Linked DNA regions of Homo sapiens: regions 2 and 3 are each linked to region 1. Evidence: promoter capture Hi-C in 16 types of primary human blood cells and fetal thymus (Javierre and others, 2016). All regions are on one chromosome and are shown on one strand. The core of a region is centred on a gene start or on the middle of the fragment in contact, and the rest is flanking DNA. Distances in the headings are between cores, read along the strand shown. Region 1 holds the start of LUC7L (LUC7 like). Region 2 overlaps RAB11FIP3 (RAB11 family interacting protein 3). Region 3 has its middle 6.6 kb from the start of AXIN1.

The links. Contacts are between HindIII fragments. The CHiCAGO score rates a contact against its expected background, and 5 or more counts as called.
Region 2: a contact is called between a fragment that was not itself captured here and the fragment with the promoter of LUC7L in region 1, in 2 of 17 cell types (naive CD4 T cells and neutrophils). The highest score is 5.4, in naive CD4 T cells.
Region 3: a fragment that was not itself captured here is called in contact with the fragment with the promoter of LUC7L in region 1 in 15 of 17 cell types (naive CD4 T cells, total CD8 T cells, naive CD8 T cells and 12 more); the score reaches 19.9 in naive CD4 T cells.

What each region holds. Positions count from the first base shown.
Region 1 is chr16:227,772-231,604 of GRCh38, forward strand. It overlaps LUC7L (LUC7 like), which reads right to left and starts at 1,678. Exons shown (of 10, transcript NM_201412.3): 1 at 1,508-1,678. The coding sequence starts at 1,568. It also overlaps the pseudogene C4orf46P1. RefSeq lists a silencer at 1,292-1,521 and an enhancer at 1,354-2,050. The HindIII fragment of the contact is 7,539 bases long and covers 32-3,833 here.
Region 2 is chr16:427,953-431,785 of GRCh38, forward strand. All of the region lies in intron 1 of RAB11FIP3 (RAB11 family interacting protein 3), which reads left to right. Among named protein-coding and RNA genes, the nearest start is that of RAB11FIP3, 4.2 kb to the left of the region's middle. The HindIII fragment of the contact is 3,069 bases long and covers 270-3,338 here.
Region 3 is chr16:357,419-361,251 of GRCh38, forward strand. No RefSeq gene overlaps it. Among named protein-coding and RNA genes, the nearest start is that of AXIN1, 6.6 kb to the left of the region's middle. RefSeq lists an enhancer at 3,456-3,833. The HindIII fragment of the contact is 6,075 bases long and covers 1-3,833 here.

The DNA.
Region 1 (3,833 bases), core at 428-2,927:
AGTATTTTGCCCAAAATTGAATGAAGAAGAAAGCTTTCAAACTCTATCGAAGACTGTTAAATAATCTAGATCTATTCTTCCTACGTCCCTTTCGTTCCCACCCTTAAAAAAGAGAGTTGCTACCTGGGAGTCACTTTTAACAAGACAATACCAAAAAAAGCAAAAAAGGAACTAGGTTAGTCAATACACACTGTGAGCTCCAACACATACTGTACCCATCTGCATTCTTCAAGACCTCAGCTGCAGAATTTTATGCCCGCTGTTGAAAAGTGTTAAAGGAAAAGTTTTCTTGCCCACACCTGCAGTAAGGAAGTCGGGGGAATGATACATAAAAGTAAAGGTAAAGTGGTATGTGACAAATTTTAAAGCTAGTCTGTGTATACAACACAGAGCTGTGCAACGCTAGAGGAGGAATATATTTTAGGATTTGCAAGCATCCAGGATTAATGTAGTGTCTTTTTATTGAAAATGTTTTCTTTCTAAACTACACTTTTAAAGTTACTTGTGAAAAAAAGCAAACACTTTTTTGTTATAACAGCTTAGAAATTGGTTGTGACTCACGGCTCGATGAACATGAGGCTTTCTGCAACTCCCTTGCAGATTGATGTAGGCAGGCAAAGATACACTGAACCTTTATAAATAAAATAGAGGGGCCACAATTGTTCAGTTTGTATGAAATAAAAATATGGGAAGCAATTCAAAAGCAACTCAATATACAAAGAAAGCTAAAAAGCACTTATTCACCTATGAAATAAAGTGCAAATAATCTGCACAGCCCTGAGAATGTGCCAGTGTGAACTTACAACTTCATTACTCAGCAGAAAAGAAAACACAAACCACAGCAGGTATATAGTTTTGCAAAGATGCAACCGCTTTCTCCTGTGACAACCATCATGATCTTGAGCTCCTCCCTACACAGTACAACCTACCTAACGACTGTCAAGCGCTGGCTACACAGAGGCTCTCCTGTGTGCTGGGGGGAAGGGGGCAGCTGGAAAAGTACTTGGCAGAAACCCACGTTAGAAAAGCTCAGTTTACGGTTCCCCTTGCAATGGTACAGAACCAGAGCGGGCCAGGTTTTCGAGGCCCATCCGGCTCCCTCGGGTGTAGCTTCTTCCCAAGGAGCCTCGGAAGAGTTCTGCCACCCGGCTGCCAGCGACCTGGAGCCCACGCTGATTCCAGCCCTCCGCCGACTCCACAGTTCGCGGAGGGGCACGGAGCCGCGGCGCCCGCCGGGGAGGAAGTAGCAGGACGGTACATAGGAAGGAGGCTGAAGCCCCATCCATGGCGCAGACTCCGAGAGAGGAGCCCGACCTGGACCCACGGCCGCCTCAGAGACGCACCGGCTTAGACAAAGGCCCGGCGCCTGCGGTCGGAGCGCGGGGGAGGAGGAGCGATGCCCCGCGCAGGCGCAGGCGCAGACGATCGCGGCCCCCGCCTCAGGCCGCCCGGCGGCCTCGCCTCACTCCCACCCCAGACCCTCGCCTGGTTGGCCGCTCTGACTCACCGTCCCGAGCCGTGCCCATGAGCTGGTCCAGCAGGGCCCGCATCTGCGCCTGGGCGGACATGGTAGCCGGCGGAGGCGACGGGGTCGGCCGCGACGACTTCTCTCAGGCAGGCGGTGGCAGCGGCGTCGACAAACGATGGTCGCGTCGGCCTCGAGCCCACTCGGCTCTTTCCCGCCGCGGGGGACGCCGGGAGGAAGTACGACGGCGCCGGCGCACGCCCTGCTGGGAAATGTAGTTTCTGGGGTGGGTGCTTAGGGAGGCTGAGGCTCTGAGTGGTCGCAAGTTGTCCAACGGCGGAACCAAAATCCCAACCCTGATTTTACTCTAGACCCCCAGGACCTCAAACGAGTCTCTACGGAGGGTAAACTACAATAAAATGAAATACAGTCAATCAAAAACAAGATGAATCCGTGCTTTTTCTAAGCTAGCCATGAAACCGTGAGCATATTATTTAGCTCCCCGACGCTCGTTTTTTTAAATCTGTGAAATGAGGGTTCTAAAGGTGCCCCTCATATGATTTTTGTGAAAGTTAAATAAAGCATGGAATTTTATTTATTTATTTATTTATTTATTTAGAGCGAGGGTCTTGCTCCGTCGCCCAGGCTGGAATGCAGTGGCGCGATTACCGCTCACTGCAGCCTCGACCTCCCCGGCTCCTTATCCTCCCGCCTCAGCCCGGCAAAGTATTGGGATTACTGGTGTGAACCACCACGTTTGGCCATCAGTCATGGCATTAATATTAGGTTCTATGATTACAACCTCGTGGTCGTCCTTTTGTGAGCTCATGGTCTACTGTCCCAGGGACTAAAGAAAAGGCATATGTAAGCAGTTATTTTATGTGATAATAGAATTATAGCATGCACTTATGTGTGCATAGTCTGGCATATACTTCTATTATATTAAACCTCTATTATTTATTTATTTATTTTTGAGACGGAGTTTCGCCCAGGCTAGAGTGCAATGGCGCGATCTTGGCTCTCCGCAACCTCCGCCTCCTGGGTTCAAGCGATTCTCCTGCCTCAACCTCCCAAAGTGCTGGGATTACAGGCATGAGCCACCACGCCCGGTCTTTATTTTTTATTTGTTTATTTTTTTTTTGAGACGGAGTCTTGCTCTGTCACCCAGGCTGGAATGCTGTGGCGCGATCTCGGCTCACTGTAAGCTCCGCCTCCCGGGTTGAAGCGATTCTCCTGCCTCAGTCTCCCCAGTAGCTGGAATTTCAGGCGCCCGCCACCCCCTCCGGCTAATTTTTGAATGTTAAGTAGAGACGGGGTTTCACCATGCTGGCCAGGCTGGTCTCAAAGTCTTGACCTCAAGTAGCCAGCCACCATGCCCAGCTGATTTTTGTATTTTCGGTAGACACGGTGTTGTACCGTATTGGCCAGGCTGGTCTTGAACTTCTGACCTTGTGATCTGCCTGCCTCGGCCTCCCAAAGTGCTGAGATTACAGGCGTGAGCCACCGCGCCCTGCCGTATTTTATTTATTTTTGAGACGGAGTCTCCCTCTGTCGCCCAGCCTGGAGTGCAGTGGCGCGATCTCGGCTTCCTGCATCCTCTGACTCCTGGGTTCAAGCGATTCTCTTGTCTCAGTCTCCCCAGTAGCTGGGATTACAGGCACCCGCCATCATTCCCGACTAACTTTTTTTTTGTACTTTTGCAGAGACGGGGTTCCGCCATGTTGGCCAGGCTGGTCTTAAACTCCTAACCTCAGGTGATCCGCCCACCTCAGCCTCCCAAAGTCCTCGGATTACAGCTGTGAGCCAGAACGCCAGGCCCCTGCTCTCTATTTAAAATAAATAAATAGGGTGTCCGTTGGGCTGCTCGGGTCGGATTCCGCGGTGCCAGCCCTTCCCCATGGCCGACCCTGAGAAGTTGCAGGTTTCTTCGCCGCCCCCGCCGCCTCCTTCTCCCTCCTCTTCAGACGCCTCTGCAGCATCTTACCCTGGCAGCCCAGTGAGTTTGGGCTGGCCAGTTCCGAGCAGGAGCAGCGGCCGAACGGTGGACCCGCTGGAGGAAGTGGGGCTGCAGATCGGAGACGCAGCCTTTTCATTAACCAAACTTCTTGAAGCCACATCTGCAGTATCAGCTCAAGTGGAAGAACTTGCCTTCAAATGTACAGAAAAGGCACGTTTCCTTAAAACGTGGCGGGACCTATGGAAAGAAGGCTATGATTCTTTGAAACCTGATGACTAATTTGGCATACTTCGTTGTTTAATAATGACTGCAATAATTCATACTTCTTCTTATGTCATATTTGTACGTGTACCACACGTATAGGATGACCTCTGTCCAGCAGTTCTGTATATACTCAGAATGAATTTTTTC
Region 2 (3,833 bases), core at 554-3,053, 200 kb after region 1:
TAGTCGGGCGTGGTGGCGGGCACCTGTACTCCTAGCTACTCGGGAGGCTGAGGCAGGAGAATGGCGTGAACCCGGGAGGCGGAGCTTGCAGTGAGCGGAGATCGCGCCACTGCACTCCAGCCTGGGCGACAGAGCGAGACTTCGTCTCAAAAAAAAAAAACAGCAACAAAACAAAAAACACAGGGTCCTGATAAATCAGGGTTCCTTGCTGAGTTCACATTAAGAAGATGTGCAGACAGGTGCGTGCGGGGCAGCCTGCAATGCTCGCAAGCTTAGCTCCGGTTGGGATATTGTCAGGGTAGTTTTCCACCTACACTAATGGGCAGTGAAATATGTGACTGATACTTTCCTGTATGGTCAGCGTGGATGGTGGTTGCTGGTCCAGGTGTTTTGCTGCGTTTCCTTCTTGCCCCTGGGCTGGAGAGCACCTTGAGCTCCCTTGGTTGCTGTTGGCTACTGCGCTGTCTCTTCTCCCAAACATACTCTTGCTTCAGTACAGCAAAGAAGTTAGGAGAGTACCACATTTGCTCCTTGTTACCATAACCCAACTCTTGATAGAGAACTTCTGTGAGGCTCAGGATGTTTCCACTGGATCATACCACAGTTCTCTGAGATAGTAGGTAAGCAGGATTCATCCCCACTTTACAGGTAAGAAACTGGAAACCCAGAAAGGTCAGATAGCTCTCCCAAGGTCTCACAGGAGTAGAACTAGGTCTTTTGGCCCTTAGACCTTAGATGCCTCTTCTTAGATGTGGTGGCTCACAATATCCCTATTGTGATAATATCTTACTGACTTTCATACAATTCTTTTTATTTGAGAAACATCTTTTGTCATAACCTCCCTTAATGATCACAATGGGAAAAACTTTGTGTTGCTATTTGGGGCTGAGCTTTCTTGTCATCACAAAGTAGAAATGAGACAAAATTCTTCACTCTGAATTCCAAGAGCTCTTGATGAAATTCGAAGGTTGGGGGCAAGGGCTGGATGACTTGGGATTTGGTGAGGATGGGGAAGTGGAAGGGATCTCCTGTGGTATTACTCCTTGTCTGTTCTTCTAGACGGCTTAGGAAGAAGCAATGTTGGGTGTGATCTGAGTGCCTGGACTTGGGCCGGCTTCCTGGGATGGAGGAGAGCTCTTGATTTCTTAAAGCTAAGTTACTGTTTGGCAACAGATAATTTACAGGGTAAAGAAAGGTTGATTTTCATGTTATGTAACCCTGTAGCCATTGCTCAGTTTTAGCAGTCTTGGTTCATCTGTAAACTCACCACTCACTACCCCCAGATGATTTTTGAAGTGGGTTCCTGACATTATATCATTTCTTCCATAAATGCTTCAGTATATATTTCCAAAAGATACCGATTCTTTTAAAGACATTAATGATTTTTTTAAAAACGCTAGGGAACAGTTCAGATTAACTGGATAACAGCAATAAAGGTCATAAGTTTTTGTACTTTCTACCTTGAGATTTCAAAATATTGAGCACATGAGAGACTCTTAGTCCAGTCACATTACTGTCCTTGATGATAACAACTAGATTATCTTAATTTTTTTTTTTTTTTGAGATGGAGTCTCGCCTGCTCTGTCGCCCAGGCTGGAGTGCAATGGTGTGATCTCGGCTCACTGCAACCTCTGCCTCCCGGGTTCAAGCGATTCTCCTGCTTCAGCCTCCCGAGTAGCTGGGATTACCGGTGCCCGTCACCACACCTGGCTATTTTTTGTATTTTTAGTAGAGACGGTTTTGCCATGTTGGCCAGGCTGGTCTTGAACTCTTGACCTCAGGTGATCCACCCGCCTCGGCCTCCCAAAGTGCTGGGATTACAGGCATGAGCCACTGTGCCCGGCCAAGTATCTTAATTTTTATCAAATTTTCAGAGGTAGCATATTGAGTATCTTCTATGTAATCTGTTTATGAAGGTAGCATTTTAAATTATTTAAATGGATTATCTGAATTTTTAATAGAAGCAGCTCCTGTTTATAATACAGATGGCTTTTGTGTCCCTGTTTCTTTAGCAATGTCATGGTGTGTTTGGATCTAATTACGTCATCTGGTGATAGATCAGGTGTAGTGTAATATAACACAGTGTTGTGTTAGCAGAAATCAGCACATGAAAGGAGCAAGTGGAGCTTTCTGGTTATATTTTTTTGAAACAGGAATTTATAGTCAGATGTGTCCAGGAATTAGGTATGAAGTTGGAATAGGTGATTTTTAAGGCTTCAACCATCTCTGGAGATTGACATGACCCCTTCATACTGAGAGGACTGATGCTTTTGTATTTACTGCCACCTATCATGAAGCAGAGATTGTAAAATAAATTCTAAGAGTGTTGTGAGAAAGGATTACTTTAATTTTGTTTTGTTTTTAAAGATTATAACTGTAATTTACATGTTATTTTTACAGTCACTTAAGCAGTTGCGTTTTAATAGCCACTGATTCTTTTCAGAGAATGTCCTTCAGTAACCTTGGTAGGCATTGTCTGTCTTCAGTACTTGCAGAAATAGGCTGCCGAAGGAAGTGTCGATGCTCAGATCTCCCTACGTTTTTTTATTCCTGCACCGCTAATGGTGGCAGTAGGAAGTTCCTAGGGACATTTGACTGCACCTTTTTGTTCGTTTGTTTTGAGACAGGATCTCACTCTGTCACCCAGTCTGAAGTGCAGTGGCAAGATCTCAGCTCACTGCAACCTCCACCTCCTGGGCTCAAGCAGTCCTCTCATCTTAGCCTCCTGAGTAGCTGGGACTATAGGCAGGCATGACCATGCTCCGCTAATTTAAAAAAATTGGCTGGGTGCAGTGGCTCACGCCTGTAATCCCAGCATTTTGGGAGGCTGAGGCGGGCAGATCATGAGGTCAGGAGACGGTGAAACCCCGTCTCTACTAAAAATACAAACATTTTTAAAAATTATTTTTGTAGAGATGAAGTATAGTATAGTGATACTGCCCAGGCATATTATTGAACTCCCAGGCTCAAGCGACCGTCCTCGGGCCTCAGCCTCTCAAAGTTCTGGGATTGCAGGCATGAGCCGTAGCGCCCAGCCTGGCATCGCCTTTTATTTGCCCTGTATCATTTCCAGTCTCTTAGCCTTGAATTTGAGTGAAAGTGTGTGTGAATGAGAGTGAGCATGTGTGTGTGTGAGCAGTTACATATGTGAGCTGGTGTGTGTGTGTGTAATATGTGTGTGCGGTGAGATGTGTGGGAGCATGTGTCTGCAGGATCAGGGATGTGTGTATGTGGGAGTGGGATATTTGTGTGTAAGTGGCATATTATGTATGTGTGTGAGCAGGTGAGTGTATGTATTCTGGGTCTACATGCTGACTGAATTGCTGAAAGGCAAATGAAGCTTGGGTTGTATAAAACAGAAAATGACCAATAATCCCACTATCCTGAGAAAAATAACATTCCCATTATTTTACTACATTTCTTTTCAGACTTTTTTTTTTTTTTTGAAATAGAGTCTTGCTCTCTTGCCCATGCTGGAGTGCAGTGGCACAATCTCAGTTCACTGCAACCTCCACCACGTGGGTTCAAGCGATTGTCTTGCCTGAGTCTCCTGAGTAGCTTGGACTACAGGCGTGCAACGCCTGGCTAATTTTTATATTTTTAGTAGAGACGGGGTTTCGCCGTGTTGACTAGGCTGGTCTCGAACACCAGACCTCAAGTGATCCACCTGCCTCAGCCTCCCAAAGTGTTGGGATTACAGATGTGAGCCACCGCACCTGGCCCAGACCTTTTTTAACACAGACATAGACACACAGGTGACTGTCTATAAAAGTACACAATTGAGATCATATTGGGGTAGAAGCTAAATTTTTTTTTTTTTTTGAGATGGAGTC
Region 3 (3,833 bases), core at 679-3,178, 130 kb after region 1:
TCAAGGCTGCAGTGAGCTGAGATGGTGCCACTCCACTCCAGTCTGGGTGAGAGAAAGACCTGACACTGGGCCAGGCGTGGTGGCTCACGCCTGTAATCCCAGCACTTTGGGAGGTCAAGGCAGGCAGATCGCCTGAGGCTGGGAGTTCGAGACCAGCCTGACCAACATGGAGAAACCCCATCTCTACTAAAAATACAAAATTAGCCAGGCGTGGTGGCGCATGCCCGTAATCCCAGCTACTTGGGACACTGAGGCAGGAGAATCGCTTGAACCCGGGAGGCGGACGTTGCAGTGAGCTGAGATCGCGCCACAGCACTCCAGCCTGGGCGACAGAGCGAGACTCTATCTCAAAAAAAAAAAAAGGGCAAGAAGACTCAAAACAGTCCACGTGTTATTAGTGGAAGCAGAAGCATGAAGTTCCATTTTCTTCTTTGCATGTTCAGGAATGTCTACAGGGATGTAACAGTTATGGTCCCGTGGAACGGTCTGTGTAAGTTAACCCACTGAAGGAGACGGGCATCACGGCTGAGGCCCTGAGGGGTGGAACTGACCACTGGGCAGTGTGTGTCCAGCAGGGTGATGGTCACGGCTGATGGCAGCCACATCGCCCCACGGTGGCCTGGGGCCTGGCATGGAGGTTCTGCCACCTTCCTGAGAGACACACCCTGCCAGGGGCTTCCTGGGCCATCCCAGCTGTTGGTGTCACTTTGGGCTGGGGCCTCCCCGGCCTCCACATCTGGCAGCCCCCTTAGCACTGATGTGCCCCTAGATAGGTCCTTCCTCCTCTCCCCCTCACACCTGTCGGGCAGGTGTGTCATCCAACTATGTTGCAACACGCTTCCTATTTGGAGTGGTCCACATAGCTCTGTAGCCAAAGCTGCCTCCGCAGGGCAGATGCCCCAGGAGTGATCCTGGTCCCCACAAAAGGCAGAGGCCTGGGGGAAGGGGAGCAGGGCCCTACCTCATATGCCCTGGCTCCAATATCAGGTCAGTGTGACTGTCACCATGGCCATGGATGACCTGACGGCCTCTGCCCCCGGGACCCACCATTGGCTGGGCACCTGTGGTCAGGAGGACCCACCCACAGAGAGGTGGAGGGTGAACCACTCAGCCGCTGCGGGGCAGGGGCCCAAAGAAACGGGTGCTGTGTGTGGCCAGGCTCGGTGGCTCACACCTGTAATCCCAGCACTTTGGGAGGCTGAGGCGGGTGGATCACCTGAGGTCAAGAGTTCGAGACCAGCCTGGCCAACATGGTGAAACCCCGTCTCTACTAAAAATACAAAAATTAGGCCAGGCACAGTGGTTCACGCCTGTAATTTTAGCACTTTGGGAGGCCAAGGTGGGCGTATCACCTCAGGTCAGGAGCTCGAGACCAGCCTGGCCAACGTGGTGAAACCCCATCTCTACTAAAAATGCAAAAAATTAGCCAGGTATGGTGGCAGGCCCCTGTAATCTCGGCTACTGGGGAGGTTGGGGCAGGAGAATCACTTGAACCCAGGAGACAGAGGTTGCAGTGAGCCAAGATTGTGCCAAGGCACTCCAGCCTGGGCAACAGAGTGAGACTCCATCTCAAAAAAAAAAAAAAAAAAGAAAAAGAAATGAAACGGCTGCTGTGGCCACAGTGCTTGGTCCCCGCTGGCTCCGGGTCCATACTTGTCCCCTGGGGCAGGCCCCAGACCTGCCGTCACCCACGTCGCCTGCGCCCAGCCCCGTCCAGCAGACCTGACAGTCCCCACATCCCCGCTGGCCTCCAGGGGTCAAGGGTCAGGACGCCAAGGCCAACAGGAAAGCACTGGCAACAGGGCGGGGGCCTGGCCAGCCAGGCGGCCCAGAGGCGGTCCCCTCCATCCCAGGGTACTGTCCACACCTCCCAGTGTCCTGAGGGGAGTCCTCCTGCACTGCCTTTCTGAAGAGTTCTGACCCCAGGGTGTCCAGGGGCTGGGACTGGGGCCAGGTGGATACCAGGATGTGGTCAAGTAGGCCTGCCTGGAGGGTCCGGCCGCAGGGGCTGGGGAAGTAGGAGGGGAGGGCGGCCACCACTTCCCAACTCGGGAGCTGCTGACATCAGGGGACTGTTGGGCCTGGCCTGGCACCTGCCTCCCAGGAGACCTGAGTGCCCATCCTTGTCTTGGGCCAGCCTGTAGCCCTAGGCAAAGCAGGCACCTCCTTGTGCCAGTGTCCCCCTGGGCAAAGTGATCGTCCTGACCTGGCCTCACAGCCCCAGAGGTCCGTGTGTGACCCTCTCTGACAGGCCGGGTGGCGGGATGGAGCCCACGGCTGGCCATGGACCAGGTCTGGTGTCCCAGGCACATTGTGAGCACAGGGCAGGGCCTGCTGGCCTCCCCCAACCTCAGTGCTGTTTTCCCAAAAAGAGGTGGCATCCAAGTGCAGGGGCCATGCCCCGAGGGGCCTCGCGCTGACTTCGGGAAGTAGCAGGTGACGTCCCACCTCCCTGGGCAGCCTCAGGCCGCTTCCTGTCCTTGTTGGGGGGACTCCTGCCCCTGCCACACCGACCACAGTCCTTGTCCCTGCTGTTCCCTCACCTGAACGCCCTTCCCTGCCCTGACGGCCTCCATCCCACACGCCTCTCCGGGCGCTGCCGCCCCCCCGTTGGTGCTCATCTGTCCTTCTGCCCACTATCCCCAGCGGCCCCGATACCTGCACACCCCAGTGCCCAGCGGTTCCCCCTCGAGCTGGCAAGGGGACATTAAATGGGAGGTGAGGAAGTGCGGCCCCCAGCGGGCAGCTGCCTTTGCCCCGGCCCACCTGCGCCCCCGCCCACCTGTGCCCTCCGCCGCCTCCCTCTGCTTGGCTGTCCCAAGATGTCTCTCTCCACTGCCTAGGAACCCTGAGGCCGCGGCCAAGTTCTGAGCGTGTGACTGTGTGTGCTGGGCCCCAGGCCCCTTTGTCGCCGCGGCGTCTGTCGTGGCAAACAAAAGTGAACCGGATTAGCCACAGTGGATTAAAAGATTTACGTCTCAGAGTTTACCTAATAACCTAACAATCGTGTCAACGGGAGCTTTGAACCCCCAGGGCGCGCCTGCCAGGCCAACTGAGAGCTCAAGGCCTCTGTGGGCAGCAGGACGTGGTCGGGGGGAGGAGACGCAGCCACGGCTGTCCTCACACCCAGCTCGGCCCCTGCGGGCTCCTCTGGGCAGAACCTGGGGAAGGCACGGCCTCTAGCAGGAGGTGGAGGCCTTTGAAAGGGTGCAGGTGTTGGGACCAGGTACCCGGCCCAGGCCCCCAGCCGCGTCCACACACGTCGCACACGGCAGCAAGGACGCAAGCAGTGTGGAGGTGGCCGCGTCGGCGACGTATGGGCCCCGTGGTGCTGCGGTGCACGACCTCTGTGCTGTCACCCCACAGTGTCCGCTCCTGCACGTACACGCGTGCACGCGCACACACGTGCACACGCACACACACACAAGCACGCCCCGCTTTGATCTCTAAAGGAGAGTCCATTGACAAGCTCTTAATCGCAGCTGCCCTTGCAGGGCCTGTCCCTGAAGTCCCGAGTAATGGGATTTGGCGCTTCTGATCCATCGGGCTGGCCGCTTCCCGTGTCATAGGTGGACATTTTTTTTCTTTATATCGCTTCTGTTTCTTTTTTTTTTTTCTCCTCGAAAAAATGCTGCTTAAACGGCACCGACTTGACATGGCTTGTCTCCTAACCTTGGAGTGGCGGCCGGGACGCCGGCCTGGATCAGTCGGGGGTCTTTGATGCCGCCTCCATGTGAAACCTGACGTGGAAGACCCACCGGGGCGGTTTTGGGGTCCGAGGTCCGTCAGGATTCATCCTGCCTCACCCTGCTCCCTTTGTCTCTTCCCCTGAC